4 separate regions of the Homo sapiens genome follow, and all the other regions are linked to region 1. The links are contacts of gene promoters, found by promoter capture Hi-C in blood cells and fetal thymus (Javierre and others, 2016). All regions are on one chromosome and are shown on one strand. Each heading gives the region's core, a stretch centred on a gene start or on the middle of the fragment in contact. The rest is flanking DNA. Distances are from core to core; before and after follow the strand shown.

Region 1 (4,004 bases), core at 737-3,236:
AAAAAACAGTCTAGGCTTTGCGGGTCACATACGATTGGTCTCTGTGGAGATGCCTTTTTGTTTCTTTTTATGAACGCTTAAAAAACATATAAGCCATCCTTAGCTAACAAGTTAAAAAACAAAACTGAAGGGCACCAGTGGTAACTGGCCACGCCTTGCTCTAGACATTCAGAGACACCGGAGGAAACCTCAGGCCAGAGGACACCTGGGATGAGGCCCTGGAAATACCAGCTCTCCTCCCTCCCATGCTTCTCCCCAAAGCAACAGGACACGGTGCCGACCCCTCATTTACAACGATGAGCTGTGAACACCAGGAGAGTCTCTAAAAGTGCACCCTTGCCTGGCTGTGTCCGGCACGCTCGGACTGGCCGATCTGGGGGCGGCTCCACCTCCACCTTCTTCCCAGGATCAAAGTCGTCAGCCTCTCCCTCCGTGTCACAGTGCTCCCTCTCTCGCTTCCGCTTCTTCTCTTCCTGGGCGGCAGAGTCAAGGGAGTGAGAAAGGCAGGAGTAGGCGGGATCCGGACAGGTCTGCCCAATCCCCTCGCAGTTCTCAGGGGAGGGACAGAACTAAGGGAAACCCCCTCCGAGATCCTCCTCATGCCAGGCTCCCTCCTCACAGAGACCCTGGCAGGGTCTGCTGAGGAACAGCACACCCAGGATCCTGGAACTGAGTCTGCGGGCCTCAGCGGTTCGCGTTTTGCTACCAACGGAACACCCCCTCCCCTCCTCCAGCCACGCAGGCGCACTCTGCCTGGGTCCTGGGACCAGGCTCCCCACGGGCTCCTCGTGGGCAGCGTCCGGGCCACCGCCGCTGCTCCTTTACCTTTCGCTTCCTTCTTTCCTCATCGTCCAGATGCTTCTCCTTCTCGGACTTCTTCTTCTTCTTCTTTTTCTTTTCTTTGTGCCTCTCTCGCTCATGGTCTGACCTGTCATCATAGTAACTGGAGTCGTGGCCGGATCCTGAGAGTTCAGTCACTTCACTTCCTCCGACCTTCAGGACTAGCTTTAGAGGCTTCTCCAGGGGCTTGTCGGCATAATCTGCACAGACACAGACCGAGTTCTACCCGCGTGCTCAGGTGCAAACGCCACGCAGCCAGGTGAGACGTGAAGGTGCTAAGAGGGAAAGGCCTCCCTAAGGAGTACAGCGGGGCTGCCAACCAGCAGGGAAAGACGGAAGGGAAGACCACAGTGGCGGCATGTCACTGCCTCCTTGTTCTCCCTTCCCCTCCGCAGGGAGCTTCAGGTCCCTTTCGAGCCACGGTGTCCTCACCAGAGGCCCTGTGGGATGTTGTTCACATTACTCGTTCAAGAAGATGGATTAAGAGGGACCTGGAACCCCGGAGCCCGATCTCCCTCCTAGAAACCCCCAGCACTTCGGTTCACCCTCGCCTGACTTCCTGCAGGCGCCCGTGCTGCCCGCTGACACCCATGGAGCTGCTGCGGGAGCAAGGGAGAGGGAGGGAAAGGCGGGAGAAAGGGCAGCCCAGCTTCTCCCTGAGCTCCACACAAAAGCCAGCACAGATGCTTCCCTAGTCTCCAGGACCGGGGTGAGTGGGCTTGCAGCCTCGAACCCAGAACCCTCTACCAGGAACGTAAGCGCCTACCCAGGACCCCTCACGTGTGCCCGGTTCCCTGCCCGAAATCCCAGGACCCCCTCCCGCGTGCCCAGAACCCCTCCCTCGTGGCCAGGACCTCGCCCGGTGCCCAGGACCCCCGTCCGCGTGCCCGGAACTCCTCCCCCGTGCCCGGGACCCCGCCCGCCGCGCGTCACAAAGCGCCGCCGCCTCACCCTCGTAGGACGAGCGCCACTCGGCCTTGTGCTTCTTGTGCTTCTTGCCCATGGCGGCGCCGGCGGCGGGCCCGAGGCGGGGGCTGGGAACAGCTGGCACCCGGTCGGACCTTGGCCGCCACCGCCCCCTGGCCCTGGCTGGCCGCCCGCGCTCGCTGCGCCGAGGTTGCCGAGCTCGCTGGGCCGCGCCGGAAACGGGGCGAGGCGGGGCCGCGGCAGGAAGTGGCCCTGCCGGGCCCGAGCGCTTCCGGGTCAGGAGGTGGTGCGCCTCGCGCGGCAGATTCGAAGCTAGGGCGGGGCCCGCGGGCTGAGGCAGCGGCTGTGGCGGCGACGCTGGGCGTGAGGTGGCGGCGGCCGCGCCCTGGTTGGGTCCCCACTGCTCTCGGGGGCGCCATGGACGAGGCCGTGGGCGACCTGAAGCAGGCGCTTCCCTGTGTGGCCGAGTCGCCAACGGTCCACGTGGAGGTGCATCAGCGCGGCAGCAGGTGAGCCGGACCTGTCCGACACATCCTCTGGGCACCCACCCGCCCCGACCCCAGCGCGTGCACCGAGCCCCGACCCCAGCGCACTGATTCTGATGCGACCGAACCCCAGGGTACTGATCCGGCCCGACTGGACCCGGGCGCACAGGCCGCCGGGCCCCGACCGGATCCTAGCGCAATGACGCGACCCCACCGCAGGGCACTGACCCGGCCGACCCGAGCCCTGCGCGCAGGACCCCAGCTCACAGATTGAGCCCCGACCCGACCTCAGCTCACGGACCTGGCCCTGACCCTGCCCCTGCCCCGGCTGTCCTCCAGTGCATTGATGTGGCCCTGAGTCCCACGTTGGAGAATAGGATGGCTGCGCATTACAGAGAGCTCTAGTCTCAGCCGAAAGCTGGGTGGTTATTCTTTGAGCCACTGCTTCTCAGACCCTTTAATTGTTCCCGTTCCTCACGGACTCGATGTTAAATTTTTAGGGTTCAAAGCACATCCCACTCATTTGTGACCAAGTCAGTTCATGGTATGGTGGGGCCTGTGGGCTGTGCTGCTCCCTGGAGTGGGGGGAACTCAGCGGCGGGGCCAGACCTTCACAGACCCTCCTTATGTCCACGGAGGGTGGATTGAGGTCAGGTGAGACCACCAGCCTCAGAGGGGATGCAGAGGAAGAGACCTTTCCTTTAACAGAATAGCTGTTGACTGGGTATTTTCTAGGTGCTGGAGTTCAGACACGTCAGCATAATTGCACCAGGGCCCAGAGACACCTGCACAAAGCCCCATCACAGCCTGGCGACACCTGTGTAAACACCTTAGCGCTCAGAGACACCTGTACACAGTGCCACCGCAGCCTAGAGACACCCCATGTACAACCACACCTGGGCCCAGAGACGCTAGGCATAATCACACCAGAGCACAGCTGCACCTAGAGGACAGACACCTACGTACAACTGCACCAGAGTTCATAGACACCTGCACACAACCGCACTATGCATGGTGGTCGCTGCTTGTAGGGTGCTGGGACGATTGCAAAGGGGCCACATGTCACCTGCCTGGCTCTGAGGAGCCTGTCCAGGAGGGCTCAGAGGGAGGCAGACATTGAATAGGACTTAGAGGGTGACTGCAGTTGATCAGGCCAGTAAGCTGGGACAGTGCATAGCAGGGCACAGAGGTGTGATCCGGGACCAGGTCACTGTTGTAGAAAGGGGAGGTGTTAGGAGGACTGCAGCAAGGGGGACCAAGGGAAGCCCTGGATACCAAGCTGAAAGCATTAGATTTTCTCAGCACGAATCACGGCTATTGGAGACTTGTTACAATGCAGACCCCAGGCCTGACCCCACAGCTGTGGAACTTCATTAGTAATAGTGAAAGCCAACATTATTGCGTGCTTACTATGTGCCAGGTATCGTCCTAAACACTTTGAGTGTATTAATGACTTCACAGTAGCCCAGCATAGCGAGAACTCTTACTGTTGTCCCCTTTTTCTAACTGGGAGCTGAGGCACAGCTTCTTCAGGGCACAGCTGGTAGAGGACCCACAGGCAAGGGGTGGCTCTAGATTTGGTCCCAGGCAGGCCAACTCCAACTTACCCTGTTAACTACTGGGCTTTCTTATGTATTGTCTGAGTTTTTCAAAACACTTCATTTTAACATTTTGTTTTTGAACTAAGATCATTTATGTGTGTTTTGGCTTCTTTTTTTAGCACTGCAAAGAAAGAAGACATAAACCTGAGTG
Region 2 (4,043 bases), core at 649-3,148, 760 kb after region 1:
TCCTGTGTGAAAGGGAATCTGGGCCCCCCTGTTTACTGCAGCACTGTTCACAATGGCAAAGATATGGAATCAACCTAGGTGCCTATCAATGGATGAATGGATACAGAACACGTGATATCTATTCGCGATGGAATACTCTGCAGCCATACACAAGAATGAAATCATGTCGTCTGCAACAACATGGATGGAATTGAAGGCTGTCATGTTAAGGGAAGTAAGCCGGGGTAGAAAGACAAATGTACCATGTTCTCACTCATTTGTGGGCACTGAAAGAGTGGCTCTCACAGAGGCAGAGAGTTGGCTGGTGGTTCCCAGAGGCTGGGCAGGGTGTGTGGGTGAGAGGCAGACAGAAAGTGAGGCTGGTTACGGGGCACAAACATGCAGTCAGGGGAAGGAGTAAGTTCCAATGTTCCATAGAACAGTTCACAGACCAAAGGCAACAATCATTTACTGTTTCCTTCCTTCCTTTCTTCCTTCCTTCCTTCCTTCCCTTCCTCCCTCCCTTCTTTCTTTCTCTCTCTCTCTTTCTCTCTTTCTTTTCCTTCTTTCTCTTTCTTTCTCTCTTTCTCTCTCTCTCTCTCTTTCTTTTTCTTTCTCTCTCTCTCTCTTTCTCTCTTTCTTACTTTCTTTATTTCTTTTTGACAGAGTCTCACTCCAGGCTGGAGTGCAGTGGAGGCATGATCTCGGCTCACTGCAACCTCCGCCTCCTGGGTTCAAACGATTCTCCTGTCAGCCTCCCGAGTAGCTGGGATTACAGGTGTGTGCCACCATGCCTGGCTAATTTTTGTGTTTTCAGTAGAGACAGGGTTTTGCCATGTTGGCCAGGCTGGTCTCGAACTCCTGACCTCAGGTGATCCACCTGCCTTGGCCTCCTAAAGCGCTGGGATTACAGGTGTGAGCCACTGCACCTGGTCCGCTGTATATTTCAAAATAGCTAGAAGAACTGGAATCTTCCCAACAGAAAGAAAGAGTAGATGTTCCAAGTGATGGATATACTACATACCCTGATTTGATCACTACATGCTGTGTGCACAATCAAAATATCACAACTGCCCTGTAAATATGTACAATTATTATGTATCAATAAACACTTTTCAAAAAATTTTAGATTTGATTACAAAGACATTAAACCCTGTGACACTTCAAAAAACACCATAACAAAACAAACAAAATCCAACAAAAACCGGAAGCACGCTGTGACGGTTTTGACATCTGATGTCCTCAGTGTCTAGAGGTCTTACGGGAAGAAGGAAGGCGCAATCGAATGAAGTTAGATGTGGAAATAGAATCACAACAACCCAGGAAGATGCAATTTGAGTTTTAACGATGAATTTAGCAATTTGCTTAAAAATAGTAATAGTCAATGTTGGCAAATATTCAGAGGAATATGCGTTTTCAGATACTAGTAGCAAAAGTATCAGCATAATTTTGTTCTGGAGAGGGGTTTGGTAATATGCACCAGAAGCCTTCCAATGTGGCTGACCTAGCAATGCTGCCTTTAGGGTGATAAACTGGCAAGTGGTCAAAATCCGCTCTGTGGCCTGTTGCTGCACGGCCAAGAGCTCGGAATGGTCCGTTACTGTGAAAACGATTAGCGAATAAGGAAGAGTGTGCGGTGGAGACCATCTTCCCCGTCCCCGCCCCCAGCACAATACTGACTCTCTAGCTGTCTGCAGAGCACGTTTGCAGACCCCTGATCTATGTGGAGGAGTAAACAAGTAAACAACAAAACGGTCCAGGTGTTCATTTTGCAGCATTTAGAAAATGTTGGTAAAAATAAAATAAAGAAATAAAGGGCCTAAATGTCCGTCTTTCCAACCTCATGGAAGTAGTTCAATCGATTCTGGCAAATGCAAATCCTGTCGTGTTCGGCAGCCGCTACAGGTAGACAGTGCTGCTGAAGAACTTCCAGTAACATGAGAAAACACTCATGAGAGGGTCGTGCTAAGTGAGAGCATTAAGTTATACAGACGACTTTATTCCAATTTTAATTTGAAGGTGTGTAAATAGAAAGAAATGGAAAGAAAGAAAATACTTGAACATCTTAATTACTGGGTGTTCATCCCGGGTGTGGGGAAGCAGGGGCTTCGGGTGAGGGTGGTGGGGGGTATGAGGAGTTTGGAGGTGGGTGGGAGGGGATCCCTAAAGTGACAGAGTCCTGGGAGCCCAGGGCTTGGAAGCTCACCACCTGGCAGTGCAGCCATGGGATCCAGACAGCTTCGCTGGACAGACGCACCGTGAGGGCTGGGGTGGGTCCTGGGGAGGGCAGGGCCAGAAAAGGGTGGGGCTGGGGAGAGTGGGGTCAGGGGAGGGCGGGGCTGGGGAGGGATGAGGCCTGGGGAGGGGTGAGGCCTGGGGAGGGTAGGGCCTGGGAAGAGTGGGGGATGGGGAGGGGTGAGGCCTGGGGAGGGTAGGGCCTGGGAAGAGTGGGGGATGGGGAGGGGTGAGGCCTGGGGAAGGTGGGGCTGGAAGAAGGTAGGGCTGGGGAGGGGTGGGGCTGGGGGAGGGATGAGGCCTGGGGAGGGGTGAGGCCTGGGGAAGGTGGGGCTGGGGAGGGGGGGGCCACAGAGGGCAGGGCAGGGGTAGGGCAAGGCTGGGGAGGGATGATGCCTGGGGAGGGGTGGCCTGGAGATGTCAGGGCTGGGGAGGGTAAGGCTGGGGAGGGATGAGGTCTGGGGAGGGGTGGGGCTGGGGGAGGACCGGCCTGTGGGGCAGGGCCTATGGGGGCATGGGGCCTGGGTCCTCGGGGCCTGGGACAGTGTCACTCTTCCCTTCCTTGGCTCATCCTGTGACCCGAAGAGCCTCTGCCAGGCCCTGGGCTCCTGCTGAGCTCCTGCTGAGAACAAGGCAGCCTGGTTTTTCTTTGATCTCCTGCCCCGAAGGTTGATGAGGGGATGGAGGGTCTGGAGCAATGGCCCAGACAGGGTGGAAGTTCCCTGGGGAAGAAGGGGGTGCCTGGAGTGGGTGGGTGGTCAGGGACCTTTCGAGAGGAGGGGTCTCAAGGTGAGGGCTCCTCAGGCCCCCGAATGTGGGGCAGGGTGGGTGCACAAGCAGAGGCTGTGGGGGAGGTGCTGGGCAAGGGAAGGGCAGGGCCCATTCTTAGGAGGAGCCTGAGAGTGGGACAAGAACAGATAAATTCTCAGGGAGAATGGGGTCCCTCGCCATGGGGGGTCCTGGAACAATCCATGGCGGCCTGTCCCTCTGCCTGCTCCCACCACAGTTCCGTGCTTCTCCAGAGGGCCAGGCTGGCCATGCTGTCCCTAACCCACTCCAGGGACCACATGAGTGTAACAGGATGTAGGAGAGAGCCAGGGCTTGGAAATCCATGATCTGGCCGTGTGGCCATGGGATCTGGCCAGCCTCGCAGGATGCTGTGAGGTGGGGCGAGGGCCGGGTGCAGGGAGGATGCTGTGGGTCTCCCAGGTGCCCTGTGCAGGACAGCAGCCAAGTGCTCCCAGGGGCCACCCTATGTCACACCCAGTGTGGGGGGCCCTGAGGGCAAAGGGTCCAGGGGAGGATATCAGGAGTGCCCTCCCTGTTGGAGGCTGGACTGGCCCTCCTTCCCCACAAGTGGGTTTTAGGTTGGGGCAGGAGGGAGGGACTTAGGAATGAACACGATCAGAGTAGACTCTGCTCCTGCTTCCTTGGGCCCCCACCAGCCTGGTGACTTGCTGGGGGGACACGAGGAAGATGGGGCGTGGCTGAGGCTTGGGCGGTGGGGAAGAGCCAGCTTGGGCCGGGTGTCTCTCTGTGAGGGGAGGGACCCTGGCAGGCCACGCCGAGGCCTCACAAGGAACTTGTGGTTGATGCTTTCCAAAACAGGCCCTTGGCATTTGGGTGACAGCCAGGCAGAGCTAGCTTGGTGGTGGAAGCCACTGACAGCGCCGGTTTCCCGATGAAAACTTGACGTTCGTGTTTTGAGAGCTAGCTGGGGAGACTGGGAGCTGGGTCCTCTCGGAGTGCCAGGTCAGCCGATGGCGTGTGGCCTTACGTGTGGGGTGGGGTCCCCTGTCCAGGGGTCTGAGCTTCTCACGCCTCTGGGC
Region 3 (3,958 bases), core at 323-2,822, 780 kb after region 1:
CGTGTTCTGCGGGTTAGAGCTGTGTGCAGAGACCCAAGCTTGTCGAGGGCAGTGAGCAGCTGTGGAGGAAATGTCGAGGCTCCCACGTCCCCACCAGTGTCCCCAGCTCCACGTTGAACCCCTCTCTATGATGAGGTGTCTTCCTGGATGGGTGCTGTGGGCATTGTGAAAGGAAAATAAGTCTGGGGTCCCCACATCACTAAGCTAAAGGGAAGAGTCAAGTTGGGAACTGCTTAGAGCAAACCTGCCTCCCTTTCTATTCAAAGTCTCCCCCTGCTCACTGAGATGAATGCAGATCTGATTGCCTCCTTTGGAGAGGCTCATCACAAGCTCAAAAGAACGCAGCCATCTGTCTCTTACCTACCTTTGACCTGGAAGCCCTTCCTCGAGTTGTCCCGCCTTTGCTTTGAATTGTCCCACGTTTCCAGACCAAACCAATGTTCATCTTACACATGCTGATTGATGTCCCATATCTCCCTAAAATATATAAAACCAAGCTGTGCTCTGACCACCTTGGGTACATGTCGGCAGGACCTCCTGAGGCTGTCACAGCTGCGCAGCCTCAACCTTGGCAAAATAAACTTTCTAAATTGAGACCTGTCTCAGAATTTTGGGGTTCACAGCATGCAGCCAGCAGACCTGGTGATGAAGGAGGCTAAGATCTGGCCACATGAATCTGAGGCTCATGTGTATCTGAGGCATGATGAGCCAGCAGGGTGGGGACAGGGTTTGTGCAAGAGAGCTGGGACCCTGAACTTGTGGGCTTGTGTGAGTGCCAGAGCTGGGGGCATGGTGAACCATGCATCCTGGGTATGTGGCAGTAGGGCAGTGACTTCCCTGGCCCTCTACGCCTCTGTAGGGCCTCAGCTATCTGGTAAGGGCTGTGTCTAAGACAGACCCCTGACCATGGTCCTGCCCAGCCTGTTCCCGTGGACCCTGCCAGCATCAGGATTTCTTGGCTGCCTAGTCAAGTGCCATACCTCTCAGAGGAGAGGACAGGGAGGGGCCTGGGGTCTACAGAAGGAGGCTTCAGCTAAAAAGAAGACTTGTGCCACAGAGAACGGCACGGCAAAGAAAGCCGGGGGCACCAAGCTCTGAGGACGCACATCTGCAGAAGCCCAGCAGCTGCACACCGGCTCCCTCCAGCCCTTTCCACAGCACACAGAGAGCCGGGGGTTCCCAGGCCTGGAAACAGGACAGAGTGTGGACCCCCTTTCCTCAGGCCAGGGTTTGCCTTGTCACGTCCATTGTGTAAAGCTGAGGATAAGGGTGAAGGGTAAGGGCTGAGTACTGTGGAGGCCCTGTCCATCAGCACTCTCAGCTTGAGGAAGGTGATGAGCAGGGCCCACCCCCCATTCACCCCTAAACCCCACTTGTCTACCTTGGACCTGGACGAGCAAAGCTGGCTCAGGCACAGGACTCCCTGGGTGTTTGAAGCTTTCCACCCTCAAGCAGGGGCTGTGAGCATTGCAGGCTTGCCAAGCACAGATGTGCACTGCACGGAGTGGGAAGGAGACAGTGTATAGAAATCTTCAGCCAGATTCTGTTCATCGCAATATAAAGATGGCCTTGTGCTCAGGACACATAAGTCACAGGGAAAGTTCAAAAGCTGAGAATGTAGGTGTCTACTTTGGAATTCTATTATCTTAGGTAATATCTAAAAGCAAGACAAATGCTTACAGCAGGCTAGCAGCATGAAAGAAAAGTGAAGCTTCTTAAGGAGAGTTGGGATGATGACATACTGTGGTCAATTTTTAATGCTCTTACAAAGGAAAAGAAGCACAGACAATAAATAGTGCCAAATGCAGTTAGTCACACACGTGTGTGGCTCCCACATGCACATGCACTCACCCCATCAGCTGACCTGCCCACCATCCTGGGAGTCTAGTCTGCAGCTGAAGGCTCATTTGCAAGAGGAAGAGGTTCTGGTGATGGTGACTCAGCTACTTACAGAAAAGTCTTGATCACACATTGAGACATTCATGACACGTTTCCATATTTCCAAATCCATTGTCATCAGGTACATAATTAATTGTAACATTGCTAACTCTGGAAGAAGAAGGAGTTTCCATAATTTATTCATAAGACGAAGTCACCTGTTTGAAGAGCCTTGAGATACTCCATTGAGGGGCTCTCTTTTAAGCATCACTTCTCCTTCCCAAATGTTGGAGGACAAAAGAACTTTCCTTTCCAAATTTGGAAACAGTAGAACTTAATCCTACCTGAATGTGTTCTCCCTTCCTGGGACCAGTGAAAGTACCCAGGTAGAAGCAATAAAGGTTTTCTGGGAAAAGTAGACCCCTTCTGATTCCTGATTCCTGAGAGATGGAAGGCGGGTGGGAATGTGGGTATCATGGGGTGGATAATCGGCTCTTCTGCAACCTTTTGGGACTCCTCCTTGGGCCAGGTTTGGCTCATACATCAGCCCTGTAAGGGGGCCAAGAGAGAATTCTGTGTTTGGCGTGCAGAGATAGAGATGAGGGTGTTTCATCGCCATTGTTCAGTGAATTGCCCAAGCATGGACTGCGTGGTTAGGAAAGATAGAGAAGCTTTGTATTCCTCTGTGACATTGACCAGTAATGTCATAAACCTGAGCTGGAAGAGTTTTCTTGATTTCATGCTTGAGGTACCAGGCACAGCATCTGGCCGCAGCACCAGAAGCACCAGCTCCTGCCCAAACAGGCTCAAGGCCTCATAGGTTGAAGTTGGAGGGCATTTCTGTTTTCATGAGCCAGCCATATGCTGGAGAAACTTAGGGTGGCTGATGGATTTCATTCATGGCGCTTCTCTTAAAGTGATCGCTTGAAAACGGATGGTGCTGTGTCCATGGGAGGCACCCCAGGCCTCCCAAGTGCTGTTGCAGAGCAACTCCCAGAGTCTCGGGCGAGGGGCGTGGCTGCCCTGTGACGGTGGCATCAATCCCCATGTTAAAGCATTAAAAAGGACTCGTACGTATTATCGCCACTAAAAAAACTTGTCACTAAAATTTACTTTATAGTAGTTTTATTCTTATGCTTTCATGTATGAACCGTTGTCAAATGTTGACCCTCTAGTTTTTAAATTTGATTTAATTTTATATTTCCAATGCATGAGGAAGATCACCCGGGCTCTCAACATATTTTTCCTAGTGTACTCCCGTGGCGTGATTGTAAATATTGGGAAGCTCTATGTCTGGGGAAGACAGCCCTGATCTGCAGTGTGCGCTGACTTCCGTGGTGTTAATACCCCCACCCTGGCTCATTTCAAGCTGCTGACATGACGTCTGTGAGCGAGGAGTGGAGATTAGGGGTGTGCGTGGGGTCGCTCAGGGGCAGAGGGGCTGTGCCACCCCCAGCTTCACGGGCAGAGAGCTGCTTAGACTCGGGTGACGTTCAAGCCCCACCCATAACTGCAGGCCCCGGGGACATGTCAACTTTTCTTTTGGTTACAGGGGAGCCTTGTTTTTCCAAAAAAGGACTGACCATAGGAAATCTGACAGCATCAGCACAAGTCAACATTATCCGGGGGTTGAGGGAACAAAGTAGTCGGCCCCACGGGGGTGAGTAAGGAACCATCACTGCCCTTTGCCACGCAGTGTAATTTTTATTAGCTCATTCACCATCACTGAAAAGTAATTTATTTTTTTAAAACAACATAGTAGATTGCAAAGAGTCTGGTGTTTTGGGGTGGTCAGACGCACCAGGATTAAAATTCGGGTTCTGCCATCTAATAGCTGCTTGACCTTGAGAATATGACACGAAATGCCCAGCCCGGAATGCCTGCCTTTCCTGGTGCTGCGAAGGTCATTAATGCGAGCGCCTAGCCCGGGCCTGATGTGCATCCACACTCGGGGAGCCAGCTTGCATCTGCATCTGCCTTCTTCCCCAGGGCCTTGGACAGCTTGCAGAACTCACTCAGAGCACCTAAGAAGGATGTAAATCCCTCCCTTGCCGCCAGGTGCCTGGTGGAGGGGAGTGAT
Region 4 (4,345 bases), core at 1,599-4,098, 700 kb before region 1:
CCAAACCCTGTTGCCCACAGAACGCCCATGACACCAGCTGGGTGGAGCTGCCGCCGAGTCCACGCCCCGTCTGGCTGGGACCTGGAGCTCCCCTCAAGCTGCAGATCCACTCTGCACCACAAGGTGGCCTCGCAGAGGAGCCTCCCGAGCTTTGGAACCAGAGGCAGGCTCAGCGATGCTCTCCATCCGGCCTGGCCCCACCGTGTGTATCAGGTGTCAGAGGCCTTGCTGGGTGCCAGGCCACGTCTGTGCTGTCACAGCTTTGAGGGGCCAGCGGGTCCTAGGGAGAGGCCCGTGCGACGTGAGTAACAGCAGTTTTTCTTCTGACAGCTGGGATGGAGGTGGGTCCTCCAGGGAGTGCCCCAGTCCTCGAGAGCCAGACTTGTGCACGGGCCTGGAAATGAAGGTCTCAGGCAGGGGCTGCGCACACCGATGGTCAGCATTGCCGTTCGGGGCCTGCAGTCGCCCATAATGGGCCCTGCCCCCTAGGCCTGGCCTCTTTTGCTTTCCTCCTGGATGGTTCCTCTACCCCTGGTCCAGCAGGGACTCAGCAGTGCCTGCCAGCTGCAGACCCCCATGCTCCTGCAGCCTGGAACCCTCCTGCCCTCCAAAGGTCATGGGGTGACCCAGGGTGGGAACACCAGACCCCCTCACCCCGTGTCCACCGCCCATGGCCGGGCTCACAGTGTCTCAGAGCCGTGGTGAGCCATCCTAGGACCAGTGTACCTCACAACCTTTCAGACCAGTGAAGGCCAGTGGGCTGGGTGGTCCAGGCATGTCCCCAACGCAGGTCCAGCCATCTCTGCACAGAACTGGAATCTCGGTTCATTTCGGTTTCAGCAGGTCCCATGTAGTTAGCAGGACAGCACTTGAGTTAGGTCTGAGAAAGAACGCCTGTTTGTCATGGCATTTCCTGTAAGGAGCCCAGAGCCGTGGCCCCAGGTTGGGACGGCGGCGCCAGAGCTGGGCCTGAGTCTGACCCAACCTGTGCTGAGTGGTCCTGCTGGAATGGGAACCCCAAGAGGACCACCCCTCTCTAAAAGAAGGGAAAACAGTAAGCGAGAGGGAGGCTGCAGGGGCCCAGACCTTGGCTGACCTTCCTAGCCATGGTCTCCACCCTCCGAGACCCAGGGGCCCCGCAGTGACAGCAGGGTGTTGGGCCACACAGAGCCCGAGTAGGTAAAGGAAGGTTCTGGAAACCACTTTTCAGAACCCAAAAGGTGTCTGGGAAATGGCGTTACCTGCCACTGTTGTTAAGTGTTTACTTTGTATCAATACTGAATTGTTAAAAATTTTAATCATAAAAACCAATGGAACATGTTTTTCTACTGTGTCCTTCGAGATTCTCTTATCTGGTCCTGGAAAGGGGCCGTGTGTCTGGGGAAACCTCTTGTGCACCTCATGAGGGGAGCCCGGGGGCCCACATCGGCTGGCCGAGGGCGGCCACCCCTGAAGGGTGGGGTCAGGGCCCACCCACCTCTTCACACACACCTCCGCCTGCTGGACAGTGCCTGGGCCCCACAACGGAGCACAGTCCCTTCTGCATGGGTCGCCTCCCGGGGAGAGGCATTGCTCAGGCTCAGGGAACAAACTGGGGAGGGTCAGACAGGGAGGCTGGTGGGGCACCCATGACCAGCACCCTCCAAGCTTGCTCAGCAGCCTTCCCCCTCCCACTGCTGTTTCTCTTTCTGTCTCCCCGTCTGTCTGTCTTTCTCAGTCTCTGTCTCTGCCTACCAGTCTCTCTCTCTCTCTCTTAGTCTCTGTCTCTCCCTTTCTGTCTCTCTCTCAGTCTGTCTCTTTCTGTTTCCCTTTCTCTCTCCCTCAGTCTCTGTCTCTCTCCCTCTTAGTTTCTGTCCCTCTGTCTCTGTCTCAGTCTCCGTCACTCACTTCTCTCAGTCTCCCTCAGCCTCTGTCTCATGGCCGTGACCCTCCAAAGCCCATGGACACGTGGTGCCCTGTAGTGATGTGTGCAGTGATGTGTGCAGCGATGTGTGCTGACCCTGCCCTGAGTGGCAGTGTCACGGGGAGAGGTGAGTGCAGCACCCATCAGCTGTCCAACACGGTCAGTGCTGGGAGTGAACCATCAGGCACCGCCCCCCAACACAGGTGTATCCCATTCCCTGCAGCTTTCCCTGCCGCACAGGCGGCAGGGTTGCAGACAGGACACTGCAGCTCAGAGAGAGCTGGGGGCTCATCCGAGGCCATCAGGGAGGCTCCACCTCTCCCAGCCACTCTCTCCCATGGAAAGTAGGGAAGCCACCCCCGCCGGGTCCTTGGGGAGAAGGAAAGGCACAGGGAAGGGGCAAAACAGCAGCTCCATTCCTGGCCACTCGTCTCACCCCAGATGCGAGGCGAAGTGTGGGAGCGGCCCCAGAGGCCACTGTGGAAAGGGAACTGGTTACCGAGTGAGGCGCAGGGGCCTGGCCTGTTCTCTGCCCCGTTGACTGGTGGGGGAGGTGCCCAGAGCTGGGCAGTAGCCCCGCTTGGATGGTAAACAGGACCTGCCCGCTGGCCTCACCGGCCGCCAGCACGAACGCCTGCCAAGACTGGCTTTCTGCAGCATGGAGCACAGGCTTCTCTGCCCAGCCCTGCCATGGGCACGGGCTGCCTTTCTGTGTCGGCTGGGTGCCTGAGCCAAGCAGCTCCCAACGGCTGGGTGCCTGAGCCAAGCAGCTCCCAACGGCTGGGTGCCTGAGCCAAGCAGCTCCCAACGGCTGCGTGCCCCGAGGCCGGGCAGACGCAGGTGTCCCAGGACCAAAATAGCAGTCAGATGATCATAAGGCCCCGTGGCAGGGCCCCCAGGGCAGGCTGCTCACAGCTGCTGCAGCTAAAGATAGGCGTGAAGGGCACACGCCTTGGGGAAAGTCGTGGGGAGCGGTCCTGTCTCGGGCCATGGACACAATGAGGTCACTCCGCTTCATTTCTGCAGAAGCTCTGGTGTCCCACCCCCAGGTGGCCCGGCAGAGCCTGGACAGCGTGGCCCACAACCTCTACCCACTCCTGTTCAAAGCCAGCTACCTGCTGGAGCAGGCGGAGGTGACGCGCGCGGTGCTGGGGCGCTGGCCCCTGGAGGAGTTCCGGCTGGGAGCGCTGCTGGGTCCTGGTGCCGACCACCCCCAGGACCTGCGCGACAGAACCTGCAGGGCCTGCCTGGAGGCGCTGGTGCGCGGCCTCGCGGACCACGTGCTGCAGGACCGGAGCCGCCGGCGGCTGCGGGTGGCTGACCTCACGGGCATCCGAGATGTGCAGGTGCAGCGGTGCCCGTGCGGGAGGGCGCTGGGCAGGTGGGGCCGCACCCAGCTGCTGGCCAGGACCTGCTGTGAGCTGCAGGCAGAGCCCCTCGCAGCCGGGCGCCCCGTCGAGGTCCTCGCCGACCTCTTCGTCACTGAGGGCAACTTCGAGGCGGTGGTGCAGGCTCTGAGGCCAGCGGGCCCGGCCCCTCTGCGGGTGCACTGCCCCTCGTTCCGGGCGGACAGCCTGAGCCCCAGCCAGCTCCTGCACGTGCTGCGTCTGGCTGGCCCGGGTGCCCTGCGCAAGCTGGAGGTGGTGCACAACGTGCGGCTGCATGCGGGCCACGTGCAGCAGCTTCTGGCCCAGGTGGGCTTCCCCCGGCTGGCCTCGCTCACCCTGCCCACCAAGGCCTTTGATGCACCCCCCACCTACGCCTCCACTCCCGACGGCGAGGACCCCCTCCTCGCCTCCATCGCCCGGGAGCTCAGCAAGATGGCGCAGCTCACTGAGCTCAGTGTGGCCTTCTCCACGCTGACCGGGAAGATCCCGACGCTGCTTGGGTGAGTCTTGGGGAGGGGACTGAGGGCGGGCTGGTGGCTGCAGAGGCAAGGAGAGATCGTCCAGGGGCCTGCTCATGTCCAAGGCCATGAGGCTACACGGCCTCCAGCCTCTCACTCCGGGTGTGGCCACAGCCACAGGACAGCGGCCCCGCCAAGGGGCAAGAGCACCGAAAGTCAGAGCCACCAGGAAAGAAGCGGGCTGCCATGTGTGACTTAGGGATGTGGAGAGAATGCCAGTTAAAAAAAGAGAATACGGAAATTACCAAACAGACGAAACAGAAGTGCCTACGTGGTGTGAGGAGTTGTCTATTGTTGATGAACGACTCACCCCAACACTTGGGGGCTTCAAACAGCAAACACGATTTCAGCTCAGAAATCTGAGCCTGTCGGTGCCTTTGGCTCAGGGCTGCTGTTGGCCAAGGGTGCCATCTCATCCGAAGGCCTGACAGGGCGGGATCCTCCCAGTCTCCCTCGAGGGAGGCCTGGGCTCCATGCTGCATGGACCTCCCCATGGTGGGACAGGAGGCTTATGCAGGATCCTCTCAGCAGATCTG

Evidence for each region. The method cuts DNA at HindIII sites, captures the fragments that hold promoters and counts their contacts. A CHiCAGO score of 5 or more calls a contact.
Region 2: a contact is called between a fragment that was not itself captured here and the fragment with the promoter of BRD9 in region 1, in 3 of 17 cell types (fetal thymus, naive CD4 T cells and naive B cells). The highest score is 6.8, in fetal thymus.
Region 3: a fragment that was not itself captured here is called in contact with the fragment with the promoter of BRD9 in region 1 in 1 of 17 cell types (total B cells); the score reaches 7.1 in total B cells.
Region 4: a contact is called between the fragment with the promoter of LRRC14B here and the fragment with the promoter of BRD9 in region 1, in 2 of 17 cell types (total B cells and naive B cells). The highest score is 6.3, in total B cells.

What each region holds. Positions count from the first base shown.
Region 1 is chr5:890,815-894,818 of GRCh38, forward strand. It overlaps BRD9 (bromodomain containing 9), which reads right to left and starts at 1,987. Exons shown (of 16, transcript NM_023924.5): 1 at 1,792-1,987; 2 at 826-1,040; 3 at 341-473. The coding sequence starts at 1,843. It overlaps TRIP13 (thyroid hormone receptor interactor 13), which reads left to right and starts at 2,070. Exons shown (of 13, transcript NM_004237.4): 1 at 2,070-2,276; 2 at 3,973-4,004. The coding sequence starts at 2,185. RefSeq lists silencers at 1,328-1,546, 1,737-2,356 and an enhancer at 1,356-1,988. The HindIII fragment of the contact is 13,625 bases long and covers 1-4,004 here.
Region 2 is chr5:1,649,232-1,653,274 of GRCh38, forward strand. No RefSeq gene overlaps it. Among named protein-coding and RNA genes, the nearest start is that of MIR4277, 58 kb to the right of the region's middle. The HindIII fragment of the contact is 4,657 bases long and covers 1-4,043 here.
Region 3 is chr5:1,668,702-1,672,659 of GRCh38, forward strand. No RefSeq gene overlaps it. Among named protein-coding and RNA genes, the nearest start is that of MIR4277, 38 kb to the right of the region's middle. The HindIII fragment of the contact is 274 bases long and covers 1,436-1,709 here.
Region 4 is chr5:188,647-192,991 of GRCh38, forward strand. LRRC14B (leucine rich repeat containing 14B) reads left to right here and starts at 2,849. Exons shown (of 2, transcript NM_001080478.3): 1 at 2,849-3,791. The coding sequence starts at 2,893. LOC124900929 (a long non-coding RNA gene) reads right to left here. Exons shown (of 2, transcript XR_007058670.1): 2 at 4,082-4,342. PLEKHG4B (pleckstrin homology and RhoGEF domain containing G4B) reads left to right here. Exons shown (of 20, transcript NM_052909.5): 20 at 1-1,320. RefSeq lists enhancers at 1-8, 1-262, 309-448, 2,514-2,563. The HindIII fragment of the contact is 5,007 bases long and covers 1,646-4,345 here.